2 separate regions of the Homo sapiens genome follow, and region 2 is linked to region 1. The links are contacts of gene promoters, found by promoter capture Hi-C in human tissues and cell types (Jung and others, 2019). All regions are on one chromosome and are shown on one strand. Each heading gives the region's core, a stretch centred on a gene start or on the middle of the fragment in contact. The rest is flanking DNA. Distances are from core to core; before and after follow the strand shown. Region 1 holds the start of FAM124A (family with sequence similarity 124 member A). Region 2 has its middle 29 kb from the start of SERPINE3.

Region 1 (6,452 bases), core at 901-3,400:
GCAGCAGTCAAGACACCCTAAGCAGACCAGTGACACTTTTCTGTCCCCATCTTAAAGGGGTGGAGGAGAGCATCGTACCCCCATGATTAAAGAGACTGACATTAAACAGCTGGACTATGGAGTGTGGGAACCATGTAAGTTTAGGGGCTAGATACCCTGCAGTGATCACTTGAAGGTTCTTGTGCTGGTTACCTGCCAGCAACTCTTATACCCCGCCCTCCCAAAAAATGGGCCAGGTGCAATGCCTCATGCCTATAGTCCCAGCACTTTGAGAGGCCGAGGCAGGAGGATCACTTGAGGCCAGGAGTTCGAGACCAGCCTAGGCAACATATTTTTCTCTACAAAAAAATTAAAACTCAGCTGGGCATGGTGGCACGCCTGTAGTCCCAGCTACTCAGGAGGCTGGGAGGATCACTTGAATCAGGGAGGTGGAGGCTGTAGTGAGCTGTGATTGTGCCACTGTACTCTAGCCTGGGCAACAGAGTAAGACCCTGTCTCAAACAAACAAGCAAAAAATGAAGTGAGGCTTTTAAAACCTGGGAACTGAAGCAGAAAGCCATGCATCACTAGAATACAGTGATACCGTTCAAGCTTCTCTTCCATATAATAAATGCATCACTGAGTTGCCATTAGACTGCTATGCCAATGATGAATGATAACACTGTGTCCCCTGTGGGCGAGGGGAACCTGAATCCATGCATCATTTTGAGATGTGGCTTGAGGTTTTGGTCTGGCATGCCCTTTCTCTGGATATTTGAGAAAGGCAGAAATCATTTAAATAGCATCTCATTTTCCAAAGCCCATCTTCTAAAAGTCATGCTGATTTCACCCTTTCTTCCCTGGCCTTTTCCTTAGTACCATCTTCCTGAGGATACAACTGGCCCACTCATCAGCCTTCTAGGTAAGTGGCACAGGCTCCAGCTACCTTAAGTGGACTACCTGGCTTCCCTGCTCACTGATAGGGTGTCCTGGGACCAGGCACTCGAACTCGGTAGGGTTTAGTTTCCTTGACGGTAAAATAGAAAAGTAAGCCTGTTTCACAGCACTTCCCTGAGGATCAAATGAGGCACAGTTTGAATTGTTCCCACACAGAGTAAATAAAGGCAGGTTCCCTCCTGGCTGCAAGATAAAAAATGGGCAGGGGAATCTCCCTTGAAGAACTGGCACGCTCCTTTCTTTCAGCTAATGCCCACCAATATGTCCATTGCTGTTTGGGGTGCAAGAAATTTTAGGCTCAGTAAGGACAATTCCTCCCAATGGTTTGGATAGGGCTGTCAGAACTAAATTCAAGTTGTTCGAAGTCTCCTTCCGCCCGCCCTGCCAACTTGCCTCCCTCTTCACCCTCCTAATAGGAGGTGAGCCCCTCCAATAGCGATCATTAACTCACCCTAAGGTTATCCCCTTGCTGCAACAACCCGTGAATTGCAGGTTCATTCAATGCTCTTTAAATTATTTTTAAAGGCTTTTTTTTTTTTAAGTAGCAAAAGAATGCATGACACCTATTGTAAACTGGCAAGTTGAGGGGGTGGGATGCCGCTCAGACGTGTACTGAGAAAGGTGATAATGAATTTGGCGTCAGCAATTCTTCAGAAACTATAAGAAAACACCCAGGTGTTCGAATTGGTCCCAAAAGGGAAACAAATCCTTCCCAGCTTTCACGATGCGCTGAGGTTGGTTTTCTCAGTGCTCCTCCCAGATCAGGAGGTGGGGAACCTCGTGGCAAGCCCTGGGGCTCGGGATTCCCGGACTGTGGGCCTGGGGGAGAGAGGCGGCTCTCGTGTGCACACTTACCCCGCCCCCACAACACACACGCGGTCACGCACCACAGACGGGCACACGCGCTCAGCACAGCCACAGTCGCGTGCAACCAGGAGTGCACACCGCACCCACATCACACCGCATGCACAGACGCACGGGTGTGAGACCACACACCTCGGCCACTCACGCTCACACGCCCCCCACGCGCTCGCACACGCGCTCGCACGCGCACTCCCCGCGCACCGCCGCGCGCACACGCGGGTCCCGCCGGACGGCGAGGGGCGGGGCGGGCGCGGGCGCAGGCGCGGGTGCCCAGCCGGGCGCGGTCGGGAGAGGGCGCGGCGCGGGGTTCGCGGCTGGCGCTTGAGTTGTTTGCCGGCTCCCGGGCCGCCAGACGCTCGGAGGGAGCCCGGCCGGCTCGGACTGGGCGGCCGGGAGGGAGGGCGCCCCGGGTCACGACGGCGCCCGCAAGCCGAGCGCGGCCGGGACGTGCACCATGGACCCAAAGGCGGGCGGCGGCGGCGAGGAGGACGACTGCGTGGACTCGGGCGCCGAGACCGGAGGGTGAGCCGCGCCGGGCCGGGCCGCGGGCGGGGGGCGCTCTCCGAGTTGCGCGGCGGCTCCTCCCCGGACGGGGACCCTCCTGATCCGTGCGACGGGACCGGGGCGCGGGGCTTCTCCTCCTGCCGGATCCCCCGCTCTCTCCTGGGCGGGCCGCGCTGCCCTGGGCAGGGCGGGCACCACCCGGGGGGAGGAAAGTGGAAGGACTCAAGGTTCAGTGCAAGCCCACCCATCCTGTGAGGCGATGCAGAGCGCCAGGCGGATGCAAAGACCCCTTGTCTGCATCGCTAGAGACAGGAGATGCTCTTGCACTTGTTTCCTCCTTCCTCGGGGACTTTCCTCCTGTAGCTCCGGAGCCCCCTGGAGTCCGGCCCTGGAGATCGGGAGAGGAAGAAAAGCAGGGTGGGACACCCGCACCTAAAAGTCTTTCCGAAGTCGGCTAGGAGGATGGCATTTCTCGTTATATGGCTTCATCGTGGGACTTTAATCTGTGCTGCCGAGTCCCCCTCCCCGACTCCTCCAGTCCCGCCGAACTTCCTCACCTCTAAGTGCACCTGTCCCAGCTGGACCCTTTGGCCTGTTGTACCGGCGGGATGGAGATGGTGTTGGGATTAGGATCTAGCCCTGCCTTTTTTTTTTTTTAATATTCTCTTCGCTTCAGCGGACTCAAACAATGGGCTCAAACCTTTGGAGACTAATTAGTTAGTCTCCAAACACTGTTTTCCTGAGCGGAAGAAAAGACAAAATGCCTTTTAGGAGATGAATGTCGTTATAAAGGCTTCCAGGCAGCCTCTGTCTCTAAAGGACTTTCCTGTGCAGAGTCAGCACCACATCCAGGCCGCGGGTACTGACCCAGGAGGAAAGGGTGTTTTTTCCTATCTGGAGTAATCCTGGGGGAGGGCGGGAGCTGCCTAGACTACAGAAAGCCTCATTCCTGGAAGGTCGGAGAGGTTTTAGACTAATCTCAGGATTTGGCAACCCTGTGAGGGCAGGTAGAGAATCCAGGCCCACGATCGACCCAGAGTTCTAACCCAACCCCGGCAAAGCTCCCCACAGGGCCCCTCCTGCCCCACCACTCCTAGCCCAAATGCGGGACTTTACTCCCTAGGGCATTCACCCAGCAATGGGCTTTCTCTGTTATCCAAACTTATTCATAGCTCTCTACAGCACCCAATTATAATCTGGTGGAGTAACCTGATGCTAAATGCCAAACTTCCTTTCTTCTTCCCACTCTTTGTGTAAGTGGCATTTATCAACTTTAACAAGATTATTGGCTTTTTTTTTCTGCCATTAGTTAGCTGGACCATGAATAGAAGAAACAAAGCAAAATTAACCAGCTTATTTGTAACTGCGTTAAATAAAGCATTCACTAGTCTATTCATTTTCAATTTGCAGAACTCACCTAAAACTGATATTTTTTTCAAGGGCTCTGTCTTAGAGAAGGGAGAGGAAGTCCTGGACCCAGGGGGTGACATCGCCCCAGGATCTGGACATCAGCATGACAGCGGCCAGGCCTCCTGGGAGGGGCTCCCCACTCCTGCTGACACCAGAGCTTCTGTTCTCAGCCTCTGTCACTAAAATGTGTAGTTGTAACAGGACAGAATTGTTTAAAGAATTCTTGGCCAGGTGCGGTAGCTCGCGCCTATAATCCCAGCACTTTGGGTGGCCGAGGTGGGCGGATCACCTGAGGTCGGGAGTTTGAGACCAGCCTGGCCAACATGGAGAAACCTCATCCCTACTAAAAAATATACAGAATTAGCCAGGTGTGGTGGCGCATGCCTGTAATCCCAGCTACTCGGGAGGCTGAGGCAGGAGAATCGCTTGAACCCGGGAGGCGGAGGTTGCCATGAGCTGAGATCACGCCATTGCACTCCAGCATGGGCAACAAGAGCAAAACTCCATCTCCAAAAAAAAAGGAATTCTTACTGTATCACTAGTATCCTTAAGCTAAAGGTAAAATAGCATGCATTTCAATGTATGCTAATTAGTTTTGTGTTTGCCATATATTCACAGAGCCCTTGAATTTCAGTTATCAAAAAGCTGTTCATCGTTTCCCTGCTTTTCCAGAGCTTGCCCCCACCCCTTACCCTATCCAGCTTTCACAGAGATTATGTAGAAAGCACATAGAAGACAACAAGTGTTTGCTATCGTTAGTATTTTTAAAATGCAAATCTGATCATGTCTCTCCCTTTCAAACTTTTATGGCTCTGTTATCTACAAATGCAAGGAATTTAACGTGGCCTATATGCCCTGACTCCTGTTATGGAGTCCCTTCTTCCCTCCCTGGCCTTGTTTCTCAGCAGGTCCTTCTTTGCGCCTTGTATTTTTCTGTTTCCTCGCCTTTGTCAAGCTGCCCTCTTTGCCAGCTCTGCCCTTCCCACCTGACTTGCCTGTCTGCCAGGTGAAACTCTACTCTTCTTTCAGGACTCAGCTCAAGTGACACATCTGCTAAGGCAGTGATCCTTAATTTGGGGTCCATGAATTCCTTCAAGTTGTATGCAAAATGATGTGCTTTGTGAATTTGTATGAGAAGAGAACTTTTTTTTTTTATCAGATTCTCAAAGTAGCTGGTGATCTATTCCAAACCAAGTTTGGGCAAGATATGAGACATTTCATTTTCAACACACTGTGTCTGAGGTGTTGCAAGACATCCAAGTAAAGATGATGAATCAGCAGTTGGGTATATCTGTCTGGAACTCAGAAGGGAGGTCTTCATGATGACATTGCATTTGGGTACTATTTACCTAAAAATGGCAATGGAAGCTCTGGGAGAGACTAAATCAACTGAAGGTAATAGCAAGCACTTTCTTAGCATTTAGTATGTGCCACCTACTGTTCTAAGCCTTTATGTATTTCATGGACTCCTCGAATCCTTCAACAACTCTGTGCAGCAGGTGCTTTTTAAGACCAGCCTTGAGAAACTATATTTAAACGCCCAGTCAATGAGAATGAGCTGATAAAGGAGCCTGAGAAAGAGTAGACTTGGAGTCAAAGAAAGAAGAATATGAATCATTGAAGCCAAGGGAGGTTTGAGTTTTTGAGAAAGGAAGGAGAGATCAACTATGCTACTGAGAAACTAATGAAGATGAGGAACGCTAAATGTCTTTTTTAAATGGAGATGATGAAGTGAAGGAAGAGTGGTATTTCACAGCGGGGTGGTGGAGGCAGGAGCCAGATTAGAGTGGCTCTAGAAGGCAGTAGAAGGTGAAGAAAAGGAGACAGGTGGATTCCTTTGTCTGGAAAAAGGAGAGGCAAAAAGAGGCAGTAGCTAAAGGGGAGAGTGGAGTGAAGAAAGATTTCTTAAATATAGGTGCTAATTGAGCAATCAGTGTGATAGAAAGGATTCTATAGAAGGGGGAAGGAGAAGGAGGAGAAAAGATGATAATCTGTAATGTTGCTTGCTTGCTTTCTTTTTTTTTTTTTTTTTTTTTTTTTTTTTTTTTTTAACAGACAGGTCTCTCTGTCACCCAGGCTGGAGTGCATTGGTGGAATCATGGCTCACTGCAACCTCAAATTCCAAGGCTCAAGTAATCCTCCCACCTCAGCCTCCTAAGTAGCTGGGATTACAGGCCCGCACCACCGACACCATGCCCAGCTAATTTTTTTATTTTTATAAACACAAGGTCCTGCTATGTTGCTCAGAAACTGTCTTAAACTCCTGGCCTCAAGCAGTCCTTCCACCTTGGCCTCCCAAAGCACTAGGATTATAGTTGTGAGCCACTGCTTCTGGCCCTATAGTGTCAGCATTCTGAAAAAGTGGAGGCAGATGGACTTCATACCACAGGGGGATGGATGGCTTTAGGTAGGAGGCAGGACATCCCCTCCTGCAATTAGAAGGGCAGGCAAGATGGGGTTTCTCTTTGGTGTAAATACAGCCCTCCATCATCTGAGGAGAATGGAGATTTGAATAGTTGTTTGGGGCAATGTTGAGTGGGTGCCCAGTTGAAATTTGCAATTACGTATTTAAATAAATAACAAGGGGTACGAGTTCCCGTTGTTATTTATTTTCTCGCAGCAATGCTCAACTACCTAGGGTCAGGCAGAGAGAGAGAGTGGGTAGTTAGGATCATCAGAATTTGGGGTAAGGGGGTGTGAACAAAACACAGAAACAAGGGCTGTCAGGGTATTGCTTA
Region 2 (6,068 bases), core at 799-3,298, 87 kb after region 1:
GAGAGATGCATTTATAATGAAAACAATGCACGTGAAAAACCACACTTAGATGCCATTTTTTATCTTTCAGACTGGAAAAGATCAGAAGGGTTTTTTTTTGTTTTGGTTTGGTTTGGTTTGGTTTGTTTTTGAGATGGAGTTTCACTTATGTTGCGTGGCTCATGCCTGTAATCCTAACAATTTGGGAGGCCAAGGCGGGTGGATCACCTGAAGTCAGGAGTTCGAGACCAGCCTGGCCAACATAGTGAAACCCCGTCTCTACTAAAAATACAAAAAATTAGCCGGGCATGGTGGCAGGTGCCTGTAATCCCAGCTACTGGGGAGGATGAGGCAGGAGAATCACTTGAACCTAAGAGGCAGAGGTTGCAGTGAGATCAAAAGTTCTAAGACAGACTTTGTTGGTAAGGATGTAAGGAAGGAAGCACTGTCACACACTACAGGTCAAAATGTACTAGTACAACCTCTGTGGATGCCAGCTTAGCAATATCTAGTAAAAGTCACAAGTACCATTTATGTATCAATTCCAATTCAAGGAATTTATTCTATAAGCATACTTGTACGTAGGAGAAATGATGCATGCATTTAAGCATTATTTATACTAAGAAACATCACATACGGATGAAATGTCCATTAATAGGGTACTAGCTATATGCAGCTATTAAAAAGAATAAGAAAGATTTTTTATGAAGAGAAACAATTTCTTGCATTTTTAAGGGAAAAAATGCCATAACACACATGCATATATAGTAAAAAATTTAAATGTAAATATGAATATGATCATGTATATCCATAGTTGTTTTCATGAAAAGAACTGAAACACAAGAAACCAGTACTCTTGGGGTAATAGAGCTAGGTGTTGGGGACAGAGCTTTGACACAGAGTCTTTTCAATGTACGTTATTTTGTGCCTTTCAAGTTTTGCAACCTTATGAATACCTTTTCTAAAAATATATTAAAAATTGTGCCTAAAAGAGAATAACTATTTGGGATTTTGCTATTTTGAGCCCTCTAAAATCAGAGCACCTCCTCTGCCCATGGATCTCCTAAGTCTGCTCTTTCATTTTCTCACAGTCAACCTTTTAGCAAGTTTTCAGGAACATTTTGAATGAAGAGGGAACAGCCTGCCCATCAGTGTTGCAGACCTTAGTCTCATTTCAAAATACAGACATCTCCCACTTACGTGGAGCAATTTCCCGTGGTTCTTCACTAGAGGTGGATTTACTGAGAAAGATCTCTCACATGCACAGACTTTTTCTTGTGGTCAGATACTTTGGTAAATTTGCAAAAGTAAGATATTTTAACCATGAGTTGTTAACACTCATATCTCTTTTAATTTCCCTTCATTCACTTCCCCTAATTGGAAAGCGGTGAGTCTGCAAGCCTTTTAGTGATCCCACTAAGGGGGAGTTAAGCTGAGGCTTCTCTTAATTTGGGTCTAGGAGACACACTTCTGCAGCCTTCTGTAGTCTTTTCCATGCATAGTTAAATCGTGGTTGGGGTCACAGTGCTAAGAATGGCTTCCAGGAGAGCCCGTCAGGCCGTGCACTCAGCTTCCCCTGTGAAGATGCAGCGCAGGGGAGTCACACTGGCCTCAGGGAGTGTCCTCTGGCACCATTACTGGGCATTGCAAACACTTGGGTGGTGGAAGAGAAACAAGGTTCGAAATGTCTAAGATCAGAAGCTTGTCTGGGGAAAATCCTTCCAATCCTAACACATGTAAAACTGTGAGCAGATTCAGTTCTGTTAAAAATAAAAGCCCACAGTTGAGATATACCCCAAGTCCAGTGGCCCATAACCATGCAACCAAAACATGTCATTCCAATTTCCTTGAAACGCTAATTCTAATCGTAAACACAACATGTAAATTTTACATCCTTGTCAATATGTTTCAGTGAAATGAAACTAATCAGCTACAGACAAATCAGTTTAAACAGCTCTCTTTGCCCTAAATAAAGGTAATGTATAACAGCAAATCACAAAAAAAGGTCAAAATACATCCTCCCTATGCTTTACAAACTATATTGTAAATGTTGTAAGGCAAGCTTCTTTTTTTTCTGAGACAGAGTCTTGCTCTATTGCCCAGGCTGGAGTATAGTGGTGCAATCTCGGCTCACTGCAACCTCTGCCTCTTGGGTTCAAGAGATTCTCCTGCCTCAGCCTCCTGAGTAGCTGAGATTACAGGCATGTGCCACCATGCCTGGCTAATTTTTGTATATTTAGTAGAGACAGGGTTTCACCATATTGGCTAGGCTGTTCTCGAACTCCTGACCTCAGGTGATCCGCCCATCTTGGCCTCCCAAAGTGCCAGAATTACAGGCATGAGCCACCGCGCCCAGCCAAGGCAAACTTCTTACTACTTGGTTTGAAGTCTCCCGGATCAAGATCTATACTTTTTGTATGACAATAAACTTTAAAATTTTTTCTAACTTGATCTAATTTTATTTTAGACAGCTCTCCACAGATGCTGAGTCAAACTAGAAGTTTTCTCATTAGGAATATACTCAGTAATAAAATATATACAAATATAAACATACCATGCATTTTTTTTCCTATGGGAATTACATGGAAGATAATTCATTAGAATTCCTTTGTCTGTAACACATAAATCTATAGCTAATAATACAAATAGTTTGTACTTCAGTAGATGAAGTCACATATTTTATACATCCTGACTGTCAATTAAAATTTCTTTTGGTCAACCATGCTAGAGGAAAGTCTGAATTATCTTTCTAATCTCTCTACAGAAAATGATATTACAAAATTATCGTTATAAAAAAAATGGATAACGCTGGGTCCGGTGGCTCACACCTGTAATCCCAGCACTTTGGGAGGTTGAGGAGGGTGGATCACTGGAGGTCAGGAGTTTGAGACCAATAGCGAAAACCCATCTCTACCAAAAATACAAAAAAAATTAGCCAGGCGTGGTGGTGCACACCTGTAGTCCCAGCTACTCAGGGAGGCTGAGGCAGGAGAATCGCTTGAACCCAGGAGGTGGAGGTTGCAGTGAGTTGAGATTATGCCATCACACTCCAGCCTGGGGGACAGAGCAAGACTCCATCTCAAAAAAAGAAAAAAGAAAAGAAAGAAAATAAAATTAAAATTTAAAATGGATAACAAGTATGCAGTCAAAAAATTGAAGCTAAAAGTATTAGGGAAGTTTGTCAGGTACTTAGCTTATTAAAATATCATGTTTTTCTGGATTTTGTATATTATGCTACTTGTTAGATATTTCCAATCTGTAATTTGTTGTGATTTCTTTTCTTATTCTAAGTATTTATTTTCCTATCTAATTTGTTTTAATATTTTCTATTCTTTTTTCTATAAAGTACACCCCAAATTATTTAAACTTCAGGCCCCACAAAACTTGGACCCATACCATGTATTCACTATCAATTTAAAATGTGAACTTGTCAGTCTCCCACATAAAGATTAGAACTAACAGAGCAGGGTGATTTTTATATTATACAGGGTTTTTTATACTAAAGACACTGACATCCAGATCAGCCCAGTAACCTGAGCCAATGAAAACTCTGGAAACAAAGCCCTTTCTCTAAATCCCCCATTAACTCCCCTTTAAACCATTGTCTCTTCAGGGCATGGAAAACAAAAATAGGTTTTCCCCAAAAATCTTCCTAAGCCTCAGTCTGCTTGCTAATCCTCAAGTGCTGTCATTCTCCCAACATGCTCAAGGCCTCAGTGAACTTCTCATTTTACATCTTAAAAGTGGAGAATTAATTATAAGACTTTATTCACTCAGTGATGGAACCTCTGCTGAGTGACACACTTTGCAATCTCATTTGGAGGGCTTGAAATTAACCCAGCATATGCCACACAGCTCCTGAATTCTCAAGGCTGCACAGCTGCCGTGCTGCTTTGGTTTTCATTACATGGGAGGCTTTTCCACCTGCTGGCTATGTCACAAAACCCAATCTGTCCTAGCGGGGCTTTTTTTGTTCACTTATTGAAAGTTTGGTTTTTAGCTATAAGCTGAAATCTGTATGAAAACCTCAACAGACAATAATAGTAGAAGTCGGCCAGGTGCAGTGGCTCATGCCTGTAATCCCAGCACTTTGGGAGGCTGAGGTGGGTGGATCACCTGAGGTCGGGAGTTTGAGACCAGCCCGATCAATATGGTGAAACCCCATCTCTACTAAAAATACAAAAATTAGCCGGGCATGGTGGCATGTGCCTGTAATCCCAGCTACTCGGGAGGCTGAGACAGGAGAATTGCTTGAACCAGGGAGGTGGAGGTTGCAGTGAGCTGAGATTGCACCACTGCACTCCAGCCTGGGCGACAGAGTGGTACTCTGTCTCAAAAAAATAAAAAATAATAGTAGAGGTTAGTGTTGTTCTTCTGTGCATTTGGAGAAAAAAAGTTTCCCTTATATTCCTGGCAACTACAGGAACGCATGGTTCAACTCTCCCTTGCAGAGAGAACTTGTTGCAGGCAGTATAGCTGGCTGTCAGCTGCTGCCCCTTCGGGATACAAAGCAGCTCACACAAGGCCATGCTCTCCCTGGGCTGCTCCCAGACAATGACTGGGCACAGTGGGATTTTAGAGCCAGAACATTCCTGCCCAATGCAGGATCCTCTAACAAGCAGTCTTTGCTCTGGAGCTCCCCATTGTTACCCAAGACTTTCTCACAGCTGCAAACTCTCAAGCTCTCCCTACCCAATCTTTTCTCCTTCCCTTTCTCCTCTCCCAGGTGTCAGGCCAGTATTATAGTCTGATGGCTCTCTGCGCCACCTCCTGCCCCTTCTTTCCTTTGTTCATCCCAGATACTTCCCCCAGTGAATCTCTTGCACGTCTAACTTCATCTTAGCATATGCGTCTCCAAGGAGTCAAACTGATACACCACCTTAGAACTGCTGAATTATGTGAGTAAAAGGGAAAAAAATTAATGCTATCATTTTTTGCAAAGAAAGACAGAAAATAATAATATTTATGGAGCATCTACTCTGTCAGGTATTGCTGGGCATTTGAAAATACATTGTCTCATTCAATTCATAAATGAGAGCTTTTTTTTTTTTTTTTTTTTTTTTTTTTGAGATAGACTCTTGCTCTGTCACCCAGGCTGGAGTGCAAGTGGTGCAATCTTGGCTCACTGCAACCTCCGCCTCCTGGGTTCAAGCAATTCTCGTGCCTCAGCCTACCCAAGTAGCTGGGACTACAGGAGTGCACCACCACGCCTGGCTAATTTTTGTAATTTTAGTAGAGAGGGGGTTTCACCATATTGGCCAAGCTCGTCTGGAACTCCTGACCTCAAGTGATCTGCCCACCTCAGCCTCCTAAAGTACTGGGATTACAGGCATGAGCCACTGTGCCTGGCCAATGGGAGTATTCTTATCCTTAGGATTTTAAAAATACAGGTGAAATTCTGGTTGACAAAGTGACTGTGGATGCCCTGGGTATTTACAGAGCTGTCAGCCTGACTTAGCTTTCTAGAGAAATTCTAGATTTGAAGTCAAGAGGCAGTTTACATACAGTTTTCCTGAGCTTAGGGGAAGGGCTAATAAATACGTTATTTTGTAGGTTGCATGGAAGGAAAACTATTACCTTTAGTGATCTTATATCCTTCCTTCACCCTAGCCCCTCTCAGATGAGAAATCTGCCAGGCATTCTTTCCTTATTGACTGTCCACCACTCTAGTTCTGAGAATTCTCTGCCAAAGTCCACACTGAGCCTGAATCTATGTGGTGGAGTCTGTCTTTCCACTGTAGCGTCAAATCTGACAGCAAAAGTTGGATCAAATTGTGGCTGTAGAATATCATGGAATGTTTAAAGCAATGTTTGCAACAACATTTATTTGGAACTCCCTAGCCTTTTTAATTATAAAAAGAATATAAAATCAAAAGAGTAAAAATATGGCTTAAAATGTTGGGTAGATATAGTAATAATGATAGCACCAACTGCTAGAACATCTGCTGACATCTCACTGCTTTCACCCGGCAGAAGCTTGTTTCTTGATTTTGTGAAGCCCCATGGTGGTGTTGGTGGGGCAGATGGTGAGGTCCTGGGCCACATGCAGTCACTCAGAAACCCAGATCCACAGAGGCTCTGCCATCTTC

The links. Contacts are between HindIII fragments. The study calls those that stand out against the background at their distance.
Region 2: a fragment that was not itself captured here is called in contact with the fragment with the promoter of FAM124A in region 1 in 2 of the 25 tissues and cell types used here (adrenal gland and hippocampus).

What each region holds. Positions count from the first base shown.
Region 1 is chr13:51,220,248-51,226,699 of GRCh38, forward strand. FAM124A (family with sequence similarity 124 member A) reads left to right here and starts at 2,151. Exons shown (of 4, transcript NM_001242312.2): 1 at 2,151-2,322. The coding sequence starts at 2,255. RefSeq lists an enhancer at 1,299-2,089 and silencers at 1,870-1,919, 2,040-2,099. The HindIII fragment of the contact is 11,319 bases long and covers 1-6,452 here.
Region 2 is chr13:51,307,620-51,313,687 of GRCh38, forward strand. No RefSeq gene overlaps it. Among named protein-coding and RNA genes, the nearest start is that of SERPINE3, 29 kb to the right of the region's middle. The HindIII fragment of the contact is 3,900 bases long and covers 99-3,998 here.